4 separate regions of the Homo sapiens genome follow, and all the other regions are linked to region 3. The links are contacts of gene promoters, found by promoter capture Hi-C in blood cells and fetal thymus (Javierre and others, 2016). All regions are on one chromosome and are shown on one strand. Each heading gives the region's core, a stretch centred on a gene start or on the middle of the fragment in contact. The rest is flanking DNA. Distances are from core to core; before and after follow the strand shown. Region 1 has its middle 66 kb from the start of LINC02542. Region 2 overlaps CEP162 (centrosomal protein 162). Region 3 holds the start of PGM3 (phosphoglucomutase 3). Region 4 overlaps IBTK (inhibitor of Bruton tyrosine kinase).

Region 1 (3,049 bases), core at 177-2,676, 1.0 Mb after region 3:
CTTTAACTGTTTTGGAGGCCAGGGTGTATATATTTGTTCATGATAAGGTGTAAATAGCTCTTTCATAAAATTTTAGATCTGAAGCCTTATTGATTAATTTTAATGTATATTCTCTTCATTTTATAAATTGAAGAAAGCTGGCCGGGCGTGGTGCTCATGCTATAATTCCAGTACTCTGGGAGGGCGATGCTGGTGGATCACTTGAGGCCAGGAGTTCAAGACCAGGCTGACCAACATGGTGAAACCCCGTCTTTACTAAAAATACAAAAATTAGCCAAATGTGGTAGTGGGCGCCTGTAATCCCAGCTACTTAGGAGGCTGAGGTAGGAGGATCACCTGAGTCAGGGAGGCGGAGGTTGCAGTGAACCAACATCATGCCACTGTGCTCCAGCCTGGGTGACAGAGTGAGACCCCATCTCAAAAAAAAATTGTACATATAGTGGTGGAGCCAAACTTGACCTGATGTTTCTCCCAAATATGGTTCAAGCTTTGCTCATGCTGATCTCTACCTAAATTTTTCTTTTTCTTCAGATAAAATTCTACCTATCCATAATTAAGGCAATCAAAATTCTCTTTCCTTTATAGTTTTTCTGGTTTCCCTCCATACACCCTCAAACATAAAGTAACATAAAAACAGTAGCATACATGGATCAGCTATGTTCTCATTTCCTTGTAACCCTATACCTTTCAGGGTACTTGTCATATTCTGCCATTACTTTTGTTTTTCTATTAATCTAGTCTTTTACTAAATTACTTGTACTTTGAGAACATAGACTAGGCATTCTTTTCTTTCTTGTATATGTGTATGTTTAAATCTTTTAAAATCTTGAACCATAACATAAAGAGGTAAGTGCACAAGACAAAAATATTTAGCTAAGTAATTTACCAGTAAGTCAAGAAGTGGACCATGACAGCACTTCAGAAAGAGGTCCTGGATTTGATTTGCTAACATTTCAATGAAGACTTTTGCATCTGTATTCATGAGAGATATCGGTCTGTGGTTTTCTTTTTCTTTTCCTTTTTTTTTCCTATCTTTTACTCTGGTATCACTGTAATAGCAGCCTTATAGAGTGAATTGGGAAGGATTCACTTTTATGGAAGTGTTCATAAATGATTGGTATTATTTCTTATTTAAATATTTGATAGAATTAACTAGTGGAATCATCCAGGTGTGGGATTTTCTTTGTGGGAAGATTTTAAATTATTATTATTTTTTCTATTTCTTTACATATTACAGGCCTGTTGAGATTTTCTATATGTTCTTTATTCAGTTTCAATAATTTGTTCTTTCTAGGAATTTATCTGGTTCATCTTAGTTGTCTAGTTTGTTCATAGTAGTGCCTTACAGTCCTTTTAATTTCATAAGGTTTGGTGGTCAAGTTCCTCCCTACTTTTGTAATTTTGGTAATCTTTATTTTCTCTCTCTCTCTTTTTTTTCTTTAACCATATCAGTCAACATTGAAGTTGTCAAAGAAGTTATTGAAGTCAAAGAACCAGCTTGGGGTTCATTGATTTTTCTCTGCTCTCTTTTCTTTTTCTTTGGTTCTGTTCTCTTTATTATTATTTTCTGCTTCCTTTAGCTTTAATTTGCTGTTCTTTTCTATACATTCAGGCTTAGAGAGTTCTCTTTTTCTCAAATACAGGCATGTAGACCTATAGATTTCCCTCTAAGCACTGCTTTAGCTGCATCTCATAAATTTGTATATGTCATGTTTTTATTTTCATTCAGTTCAAAATATTTTTAAATTTCATCTTGATTTCTTCTTTGAACTATGGATTACTTAAAAGTATATTGTTTAATTTTCAAGTATTTGGGAATTCTTACCAAATATGTGTTTGTTATTGATTGCTAATTTAATTTTGTTAAATTTGGAGAACTTATTTTGTATTGTTTCAGTCCTTTTAAGTTTGTTGAAATATCTTTTATAGTCTAGTATATGTGCTGTCTTGGAGAATGTTCCATGTGTACAGGAGAAGAATATGACTAAATTGACATCAATCTTATGAAATAGTAGCTTGTAGGACTTTGTATGATTGTATGTTTCCTGTGTTGAGGACATAAATGTGTCTACCTAAATAAAGGATAAGAATCTGAGGAACAAAAGAGATGGACCATATGGTAAGGGATATTGCTTATTTGCAGATCCATCCTTTGTTCTCTACTATATCTTGTGAAATTAATCTCTAGGACTTTACCAACCAGCTTATTTTCCCTCTGACATCCAGTTATCACCCTCCAAGTGATTCTGATGTGTACTAAAGTAGGTATTTTGAGCCGTAAGAGAAAGATATGCACAGGCTTGATAACCATTTGGAGCACCAGCAGAATATTGGCGTGTTGGCAGGAGAAAGAGAATGAAGCTTTTTTTTCTGCCCTCTCTCATGATGTTGTTATGAGCCACAATCGGGAAGGTCACAGCTCCTGTCGGGCAGCTCTCTCCGTATGACAATCTCTCCAGCTTCTGGGGATGTTGCTTTCCCACACCCTCAGGCCTAAGAATGGCAAAGGATCTTGCATTGTATCTAGCCCAACTAACTGCAGTATCCATTGTGGTTTTCCTACATCCTACCCAGACTTTTATAAATAATTTAATAATAATTCTCCCAAGTTGAAAGTGCTGTCTGTTTCCTGCTTGGACTCTGAAAGATGATCTAAGTAATGGAGAGAAGTAATAGAATGTAGAGATTTTGTTTGTTTTTTGAGACGGAGTTTCGCTCTTGTCGCCCAGGCTGGAGTGCAGTGGTGCGATCTCAGCTCACTGCAACCTTTGCCTCCTGGGTTCAAGGATTCTCCTGCCTCAGCCTCCCAAGTAGCTGGGATTACAAGCATGTGCCAGCACGCGTGGTTAATTTTTTGTATTTTTTTTTTTTTTTCAGTAGAGACGGGGTTTCACCATGTTGACCAGGCTGGTCTCGAACTCCTGGCCTCAAGTGATCCGCCTGCCTCAGCCTCCCAAAGCGCTGGGATTACAGGGTGAGCCACCGCGCCTGGCCGAATGTAGAGGTTTTGGTTCAAGGATATTTTACCTAGAAATTTGGCAGTGAACAG
Region 2 (3,230 bases), core at 511-3,010, 1.0 Mb before region 3:
TTTTATGATTTCTATGTTTTTGGAAGGCTGATATATGTGTGATTTTAAATAGGTAAACATTATAACAGGCAAACTTAAATCTTATTTTTTAAATCTATTATCTGTTCATTTTATAGTTAGGGTTTTTCTTATGTGTGAGTAGAATATGTTTCTTGGTATTTGAGAGCCCATGCTGCCTCCACAATCTGAAATTTCATGCTATTGAGACTAATAGTACATTGCCAAGAAGTCCTTACTAGGAAAGTCATTTATTAATTCATTTTCCACAGACAAATAAAGAGAGTCCAGGTTACCATTATAAACTCAGGAAAAAAAATAACAGAAAGGGAAGTGGGAACCAAGGAGCAAAGACAAGTTTGATCTGTGTCTTAACCTCTGTATGGTTGGCCCTGATGGTTATCGGGAAACCTCATTTATTCTAGAAATCCCACTAGTTCACTGAACTGGTCCTCTCTTTATTACACTAGACCATTGCCATTCTCAAGACCTTTGAAACCTGAGGTCTTTAATGCCCTTATTTAGTTATCCATGTAATTCTTAAAATTATGAATGGAAAGAAGATCATAATTTTATTTAGGATTTTGAGATCACAAAGGTATAATTAAGGGTCAGGAGAATCATAATCTCTGATTATTAGAGTGCCTAGGCTCTGCAGGATGGTTAGTTTTTTATAGACAGTGGATAAAGAAATGCATTTACCTTCATGAACTTTGCGGGGTCTGAGATTTTTACCCTACTTGGCAAGCTAACAAGCTAGCCTTCCGGTTTTATGATGTTGACAATAGACAGAAGATTCCTGGATCAGAATTAAAGAACAAAGGCAGTACCTGAGTGTCGCATTTGTTCGCATTGGTTCCCCATGCCCTATGATTATGCTGAGGGCAAGTCAAAGGATCCATAATGGATGTATTCACACACAATGGGCTGTGTTACAGAAGAGGAACACTGAGCTTGGAAAATGTATTACTTTTTTTTGAGACGGAGTCTCGCTCTGTCGCCCAGGCTGGAGTGCAGTGGCACGATCTTGGCTCACTGCAAGCTCCACCTCCCGGGATCACACCATTCTCCTGCCTCAGCCTCCCGAGTAGCTGGGACTACAGGCGCCTGCCACCACGCCTGGCTAATTTTTTGTATTTTTTAGTAGAGAAGGGGTTTCACTGTGTTAGCCAGGATGGTCTCGATCTCCTGACCTTGTGATCCACCTGTCTCAGCCTCCCAAAGTGCTGGGATTACAGGCATGAGCCACCGCGCCCAGCGAAAATGTATTACTTTTATAGTAAGTGGAAACAAGCCTGCTCTTTGTTTGGTCGGAAATGTTACCCAAATGGCATGGTGAAAAATGATCAGCATCTTGTACTCTTGGCATATTCAGCAAGAATGTGCAGGGACACTCAGGGCCTATGGTCATTGCCTCTCCCAACGTTGTCAATACAGATTAAGCATGCGCGGGTTTGTGGGCCACAACTTTTTGCCACTTTGCTACATTTTTTAACTTTTTTCTTATTTCTTAACAGTATTCTTATCTATTGATATTTCTGCTGTAGAACAGGCCGGTCAAAGTACAGAATAGCATTGAACATGCAATATTAGGTGTTTGTAGCTCTCATCATTATTATATAGTCTTATAGTTTCTCTAACGATCTCACTAAATAGGGTTGATAGACTGAAAAGGTAGAACTGATTCTTGGTTTGAGAGAAAGCAGTATATGAACTAATACATCCAATATAATTAAATCATACTCAAGCTCCTTTGTCCCCTTGCTTAGGTTTTGTTTTAAGGCTCCTATTCAGCTTCTGTTTCAGGATTAAATTGCTTATTAGCATGTAAGTGCTGACCTTAGCATTTTTTTTCTGGCTTTCATATGGACTTCACTGGTTCTCATAGCTTGTGGTCAGTTTCTAATCTTTAGTGTAGAAGGGATATCTAGGGTTGTAAGATAATATTTGTACATGTAAATGCACATAGTAATAAAATTGTGTATATTTAAGAAATAGGGCATCTTTTTCCTTTGTATTACTTTTAAACTGCAATTAATCAAATGCTTCGAAGATGCTTTATTTTCAAAACGTTTTCCTTAAAGTTCCCAAATTTTTAGCTTTTGATAGAACAAAAGGACTTGAGAGAGGACATGTATAATTTTAGGGATTTTTTAAAACGGTATACAGAAAGAGTTGCATGAGAATATGTTTTTAACATGTAATGCTAAATTAAATAAATATTTTTTCCAGTAATCAAGCCAACGCAGAACTAACTGATGACGAACATGAGAATGAATCGAAACATGAAGAACTGGCAGGTAATTTCATTGGTTCTTAAATTTATAATATTTGAAAAGATAATATAGCTTTTAATAAAGACATTAATAAGAAAAATAATTAAAAGGAAAATCATATTGTCTCAGAGCTTTGAATAGAGTGGGTTTGCCTGTGTTATAAACTGAGCTGCTAAGAAATTGTTGAAAGTGAACTGCCTTAAAAAGGTTTTTTTCATAGACTGCATATAGCTGGTTTTAGCATTTTTGTTCAATCTGACAGTCTCTGCCTTTTAATTGATGTGTTTTTACCCTTTACAGCAGTGTATTTATTGATATAGTTGTTTACGGTTTTGCCATTTGTTTTCTTTTCATCTTCTTGTTTTTGTTGCTTTTGTCCTTCCTTCTATTGTATTACTTATAGTATTCCATTTTATTCTTATTTTGGCTTTTTAGCTATTCTTCTTTGTTGTATTTTTTTCTTAGTTGCCCTATGAGTCACAATATATGTCTACCTTATCACAATCTACTTTCAAATAATGTTATATCACTGTATTTATATGAACTCTAACAACAATAAACTCTCCTCAACCATTTTGCTATTTTTGTCAACGTTTTTCTTCTACATGTCTTAAAAACACCACAGTGCATTATTATTATTGTTGTTAAAGCAATCAATTATCATTTAAAAGTACTTTTAAGGAATATAATAGATATTTATGTAAAAATGTGTATTTATCCATATATTTACCATTCCCAGTGCTTTGTATTCCATTGTGTAGATTTGAATTTATCTCAAATTATTTTTCTTCACCACGAAGAGCCTCCTTTCACATTTCTTGTAGTGCAGGTTACTGCTAGGAACAAGTTCTCTCAGCTTTTGTTTGTCTGAAAATATACTCTGCCTTTGTTTTTGAGGAATACTTTTACTTGATACAGAATTTTATGTAGTGTTTTTTTTTCCTTCGGGCAGTTTAA
Region 3 (2,911 bases), core at 176-2,675:
CTGGGCACCTGGCAAACACTTAAATCAGGGTACCTACCTTGGGCTCTTCAATCTGGAGTGTAATTACAAATTCGATTTTTGGTGGCAGCGCCTCCCTTGTGCCTTCCAAATACCTCTTTATATTCGTCAGGGCATTTACATCTTCAAGTTTTACTTCTCCTTGGTTAGGAAACATAGAAAACAGCATTTCCATCTCCAGTAGCTGAAGCTGAAGGCTTTCTTTCACCGAAGCAGACATGTTGCCTCGCAATCAGCCTGCCTGGAAACCTCACAAGGCTCAGGGACGCTGGGTTTGTCAATGCCAGCCGGTATCCAGCGAAATTTCCCGAAGGTCCCTTTACGTGGAAGCAATTCTGCAGGAACGCTTTGCACCGAGAGCTAGGGGCACAAACCAGACACTTGCACTCTTCTTTATTTCCTGACTCCAAAATCTAGTATGCACAACATCCTCTAAAACACTCCGTAAAAACCCATATTCTGCGTACCCGGGCTCCGGGTTCCCGCCTCCCGCACCCCGCACTAGATAGGGGAATCTGCACTTTCAACAGGTGTTTGGAACTGTCCCGCTGCAGGTGGCAGGCAGACACCTGCAGACGCTCTGCAAGCCTGAATTCTGGGAAAGGCTGGGGCCCGGCTTCCAATCCCACCCGGGGCTCGGGCTTGGGCGGAGCCAGACGCTGCGGCGAGAGAGGCCGCAGTGCCAGCAGGATGGGCTCCGAGTTCCCCAGCGCCAGTCGCCACCCCTCGGTCCTGGACTCGCGGACCGCCCCCCCCCAACACCGCGGTGGCCTTTTCGCTTGGGCCGCATTCCAGGGCTCCGGACGTTTACGATTCACTGGCCTCTGCCCCGAGGGACCCAGGATAAGGGTAGGGGGTGTCTCAGAGGTCATTAAATAAAAGATGTTTACAGTGAGCTGGGGGAAGGGGGTACCCGGGGAGACGGCAGCCGGAGAAGGCTTCCCAGATTCAAAGGTTTGGGAGATGACCTCGACGTCGGAGAGGGGGATGCGGGCCGCCGGCGGCGCTCACTGTGGGCGAGGTCGCCCTGTCCGAGGCCCAGCGACGGGGCTGATTCCCCACCCCCGCCCCTAGCCAAGACCACTAGGAACCCCGGCTTCCCAGGAACGCAGGGCCTGCCGCCCCCAGAGGCCCGGATTTGGAGGCGGAGGCTGTGCCTCCGCGGCCGCAGTGCTCTGAGGGCCCGCGACCCTCGGCCCCAACCCCCGGGCCACCGCGGGGGCCTCACCCTTTCTGGTCACTCAATGGTAACAGCCCCAGACCCCGCTCGGAACCGCAGCCGCAGTTCCTCAGGCGCCAGCTGCGCGCGACCTGCGGCGAGGCGGGGGCGGGGCTGGCGGATAGTCCTCTGCCGTGATTGGCCAGGGGGCGTGGCGACGAGCCGGAAGCCACGCAGGGCCACGTCTGCGGTTCTGAGGACTGGGTTTGGGTGCAGACGTTGTTGCTTGGGCGCTTCTCCGCTGCGTGTAGGTGAAGGGGGCTTCCTGACCGAGGTAAGCCGGGCCCCGAGGCTCGGAGTTGAGAAGGGAGACTACCGGTCGGCAAGGGCTCGGTGGGAGCGGGACAGGTCAGATTCTCGGCCCGACGGAGGGGCTAGTGGTCTGGCGGGCGACTGACCGAGCGGCGGAGCGCGCGGGACACACCTACAGGCCCCTGCGCCCCGCGGGCGGGCTGGTCGGGACGGGCCGCGGGTCTCCTGCCGGGGCTCTGGTACGTGGACCTAGGCGGGGACCTCAGGGTGGAGTGCCGGGAATCACCCTTGTGCGGTGATTCGAGGGTAGGCGGGAGAGAGGCACCAAGGAGATTTGAAGATTGAATGGAGAGTAGGGGGATACTCTTAACTTTTTGCGTGGACGCTGGATTTGGCAAATATGCTTTCAATAAAGGCATTCGCAGAGGCATTGAAAGTAGTTGTAGGGCCTAAAACGCATGAAAGGATGAACTCATATTATCTGGACCTTTTTTTTTTTAATGGCTTTTTGGAGTTAACAGGACTGGTTTACACTCTTATGAATAATCATGACACATAACTGACTGCTCAGTTTTTACAAATATGTATTCATCCTTAGGAAAGAGATCTGATCACTGTCTTGAACTAAATTAGTTTACTGAATGCCAGCTTTTTCCAACTGGACAAAAGCAAGTATTTTTCACCATTTCTTGCAAGTTCTGTTCATTGAAGCAATGAAGGACAATAAAGAAAACAAAATTATGAGGCTAGCAGCTGGCGGACTGCTCCTCATCTCTGGGCTAATTGGGAATTAATTGACCCAGGAAATGTAGTATATGGACTACTGAAGGAAAACTACTGACTGAGGTTGGAAACCCCAAGTTCCACTTAATGGGAGTATCCCAGAGAAAACAGTATTAGTGGGCTAAGGGCCGATTTTTTGTTGTTGTTTGTTTTGAGACGGAGTCTCACCCTGTCGCCCAGCCTGGAGTGCAGTGGCGCGATCTCGGCTCACTGCGACCTCCACCCGCGGGTTCAAGCGATTCTCCTGCGTCAGCCTCCTGAGTAGCTGGGACTACAGGCGCGCACCACCACGCCAGGCTACTTTTTGTATTTTTAGTAGAGACAAGGGTCTCACCATGTTGGTCAGGCTGGTCTTGAATTCCTGACCTCGTGATCCGCCCGCCTTGGCCTCCCAAAATGCCGGGATTACAGGCCTGAGCCACCTCACCTGGCCTGTTTTTTTTTTTTTTTTTTTTTTTTGAGACCGAGTCTCCCTTTGTCACCCAGGCTGGAGTGCAGTGGCGCGATCTCGGCTCACTGCAACCTCTGCCTCCCGAGTAGCTGGGATTACAGGCGCCAGCTAACACGCCCGACTAATTTTTTTGTATTTTTAATAGAGAGGCGGTTTCGCCATGTTGGCCAGGCTGGTTTCAAACTCCT
Region 4 (2,974 bases), core at 392-2,891, 1.0 Mb after region 3:
ACTAGTGACTTTGAATCAAATTTTCCTTCTGCCAGAGTAAAGGAGATGTAGTAATATGACCATATGGAGATAGGGAGTACATCTGGCACTTTCAGCCCCTCCTTAAATAAACTGAAACAATTTTCATGCTCATGTCGACTTCAGGATTTGATACATACTCTGTCTCCAGTATATGCCCCTTTCCAGAGTTCTCAGCTTCCCTCTTTACTGTCACCCACCTGATGACTGCTAGTATTTCTTTTTGTCCACTCGGCGACATCAGTTTTTATCATTCCATCTCTTTTGCTATCCTTCAAAAATGTGTTGCTGTTTTTAGACTGCCATTGTCTTAATAGCTTATTATTTTTGCCCTTGTGGGTTTATACCTTTCTGATTACTTTGCTGTACACTTTAGGATTTCAGAGGAAGGTATTCAAGTGGTCATTTATCTGAAACTTCTGACTAATTTTCAAACATAGGAAAAATTTTTCCTTGGTAATAGCAACATGAGCTTAGAGTGCCACATTGAAGGGACTATCTATCCAAATTTTAAGAGTCTATTATGGCATATTAAGGAGAATTCTAGAAAGATGGGAAGAAAGATGCCATAAATTTTGACCAAAAACATAGGTTATTTTTCTTTGAAAAGAATTTGATAATTATCTGGCTGGGCATGATGGCTCATGCCTGTAATTCAAGCACTTTGGGAGGCCAAGGCAGGCAGATCACCTGAGGTCAGGAGTTTGAGACCAGCCTGGCCAACATGGAAAAACCCCGTCTCTACTAAAAATACAAAAATTAGCTGAGCATGGTGTTGCATGCCTGTAATCCCAGCTACTTGGGAGGCTGAGGCAGGAGAATCACTTGAACCTGGGAGGCAGAGGTTGCAGTGAGTTGAGATCATGCCACCACACTCCAGCCTGGGCAACAGAGCAAAAATCCTTCTCAAAAAAAAAAAAAAAAAAAAGAATTTGATAATTATCAAATACAAGTGATATTTGTTATACATTTATTTTATGAAAACATGATTGGAAAACTTAAGTACAAACATGAGTAATGAGTTTTATGTATCTTAGTACACTAAGAAAATTTATCTAACTGACCAATTATAGATAATTTAGATAATTATAGATGTTATGGGTAATCTGAATTTTTGAGAATTATAGATATTCTGAATTATTATCATCAAGGTGAGAGGTATCTGAATTGTCTACAATTAGTAATTTATGCTCTTTTTAAGACTATACAGGCATACTTTGGAGATACTGCAGGTTCGGTTCCAGACTACCTTAGTAAAGCAAACATCGCAATAAAGCAAGTCACAAGAAATTTTTGGTTTCCTGGTGCCTGTAAAAGTAATGTTTATACTATACGTAGTTTGCTAAGTGTGCAATAGCATAATATCTACAAAAAAAAACCTTAATGTAAAACTATTTTATTGCTAAAAAATGCTAATGGTCATCTGAACCTTCAGTGAATCATCTTTTTATGGTGGAGTATCTTGCCTTGATGTTGATGACTGCTGACTGATCAGGGTGGTGCTTTCGTCACTAAGCTTAATTATTTCTAGCTTTTGATTTAAAGTGAGAGACATGTGACTTTTTCTTTCACTTGAACACTTAGAGGCCACTGTAGGGTTATTAGTTGGTCTAATTTCAATATTGTTGTTTCTTAGGAAATAGGGAGGCCTAAGGAGGAGAGGGAGAGAGATGGGAGAACTGCCAATTGGTGTAACAGTCAGAAAACAAACATTTATCAATTAAGCTTGCCAACTTGTATGGATGTGGTTCATGGTGCTCCAAAACAATTATAATAGTAACATCAAAGATCAAGATCACCGTAACAGATATAATAATAATGAAAAAGTTTGAAATACCAGGAGAAATACCAAAATATGACACAGAGACACAAAGTGAGCATGTATTGTTAGAAAAATGGCACGATATACTTGCTCCATGCAAGGTTGCCACAAACCTTCAACCTGTTTAAAAACACAGTAACTATGAAGCACAGCAAAGCAAAGCACTTCAGTATAAATTGAAATTACTGTTATTAAATTGTTGAATAATTTTCTTTCTTGAATTCTTAGAAGGCTGCAAAGTATTTTAACCTGAACTCTGGATAAAACATTAATTATTGAGTGAATATAATATGATATAATTTTTCATGTGATTATAAAATTATGAGATAGCCACATAATTCAGTATATCACTTGATTTTTAATCAGATACACATAGAATGTAAATACTTGTAATATATGCTTGAAGTAAAAATGGAATAGATTGTTTTCCTGAGAACATATCTCGTATGCATTGGTTTTAAAGAAAAAATTGGAACTTTTTTTTTGTTTTTGAGACAGAGTGCAGTGGTGCAATCTTGGCTCACTGCATCCTTGACCTCCTGGACTGAAGCAATCCTTCCACCTCAGCCTCCTGAGTAGCTGGGATCACAGGTGTGCATCAGCATGCTCAGCTAATTTTTTATTTGTTGTAGAGATGGGTCTGTATATCCCCAGCTGGTCTTGAACTCCTAGGCTCAGCAGTCCTCTTGTCTCCACCTCCGAAAGTGTTGGGATTACAGGCATGAGCCACTGTTCCTGGCTGAAGTTAACATTTTAATCAGATTTACAGATTGTTATTTATAGAATGTATTCATGACTGTGATGATTTATCTGTTTTTTTTTTTTTTTTTTTTTTCTGAGACAGAGTTTTGCTCTGTCGCCCAGGCTGCAGTGCCGTGGCGCAATCTTGGCTCATTGCAGCCTCTGCCTCCTGGGTTCAAGCACTTCTCCTGCCTCAGCCTCCCGAGTATCTGGGATTACAGATGCACACCACTATGCCTGGCTAATTTTTGTATTTTTAGTAGAGATGGGGTTTCATCATGTTGGCCAGGCTGGTTTCGAACTCCTGACCTCGTCATGATCCATCCACCTTGGCCTCCCAAAGTGCTGGGATTACAGGTGTGAGCCACCACGCCCAGCCGATGTAACTGGTTT

Evidence for each region. Contacts are between HindIII fragments. The CHiCAGO score rates a contact against its expected background, and 5 or more counts as called.
Region 1: a contact is called between a fragment that was not itself captured here and the fragment with the promoter of PGM3 in region 3, in 3 of 17 cell types (M2 macrophages, non-activated CD4 T cells and total CD8 T cells). The highest score is 10.5, in M2 macrophages.
Region 2: a contact is called between a fragment that was not itself captured here and the fragment with the promoter of PGM3 in region 3, in 3 of 17 cell types (total B cells, total CD4 T cells and naive CD8 T cells). The highest score is 6.6, in total B cells.
Region 4: a fragment that was not itself captured here is called in contact with the fragment with the promoter of PGM3 in region 3 in 6 of 17 cell types (M2 macrophages, fetal thymus, naive CD4 T cells and 3 more); the score reaches 8.0 in M2 macrophages.

Annotation. Positions count from the first base shown.
Region 1 is chr6:82,166,021-82,169,069 of GRCh38, reverse strand. No RefSeq gene overlaps it. Among named protein-coding and RNA genes, the nearest start is that of LINC02542, 66 kb to the right of the region's middle. The HindIII fragment of the contact is 1,874 bases long and covers 490-2,363 here.
Region 2 is chr6:84,212,024-84,215,253 of GRCh38, reverse strand. CEP162 (centrosomal protein 162) reads left to right here. Exons shown (of 27, transcript NM_014895.4): 6 at 2,230-2,297. Among named protein-coding and RNA genes, the nearest start is that of CEP162, 14 kb to the left of the region's middle. The HindIII fragment of the contact is 3,592 bases long and covers 1-3,230 here.
Region 3 is chr6:83,191,779-83,194,689 of GRCh38, reverse strand. PGM3 (phosphoglucomutase 3) reads left to right here and starts at 1,425. Exons shown (of 13, transcript NM_015599.3): 1 at 1,425-1,511. RWDD2A (RWD domain containing 2A) reads right to left here and starts at 1,333. Exons shown (of 3, transcript NM_033411.5): 1 at 1,247-1,333; 2 at 38-378. The coding sequence starts at 238. RefSeq lists silencers at 1,035-1,404, 1,705-1,774 and an enhancer at 963-1,462. The HindIII fragment of the contact is 15,181 bases long and covers 1-2,911 here.
Region 4 is chr6:82,184,886-82,187,859 of GRCh38, reverse strand. The region is part of intron 25 of IBTK (inhibitor of Bruton tyrosine kinase); the gene reads left to right. Among named protein-coding and RNA genes, the nearest start is that of IBTK, 61 kb to the left of the region's middle. The HindIII fragment of the contact is 209 bases long and covers 1,537-1,745 here.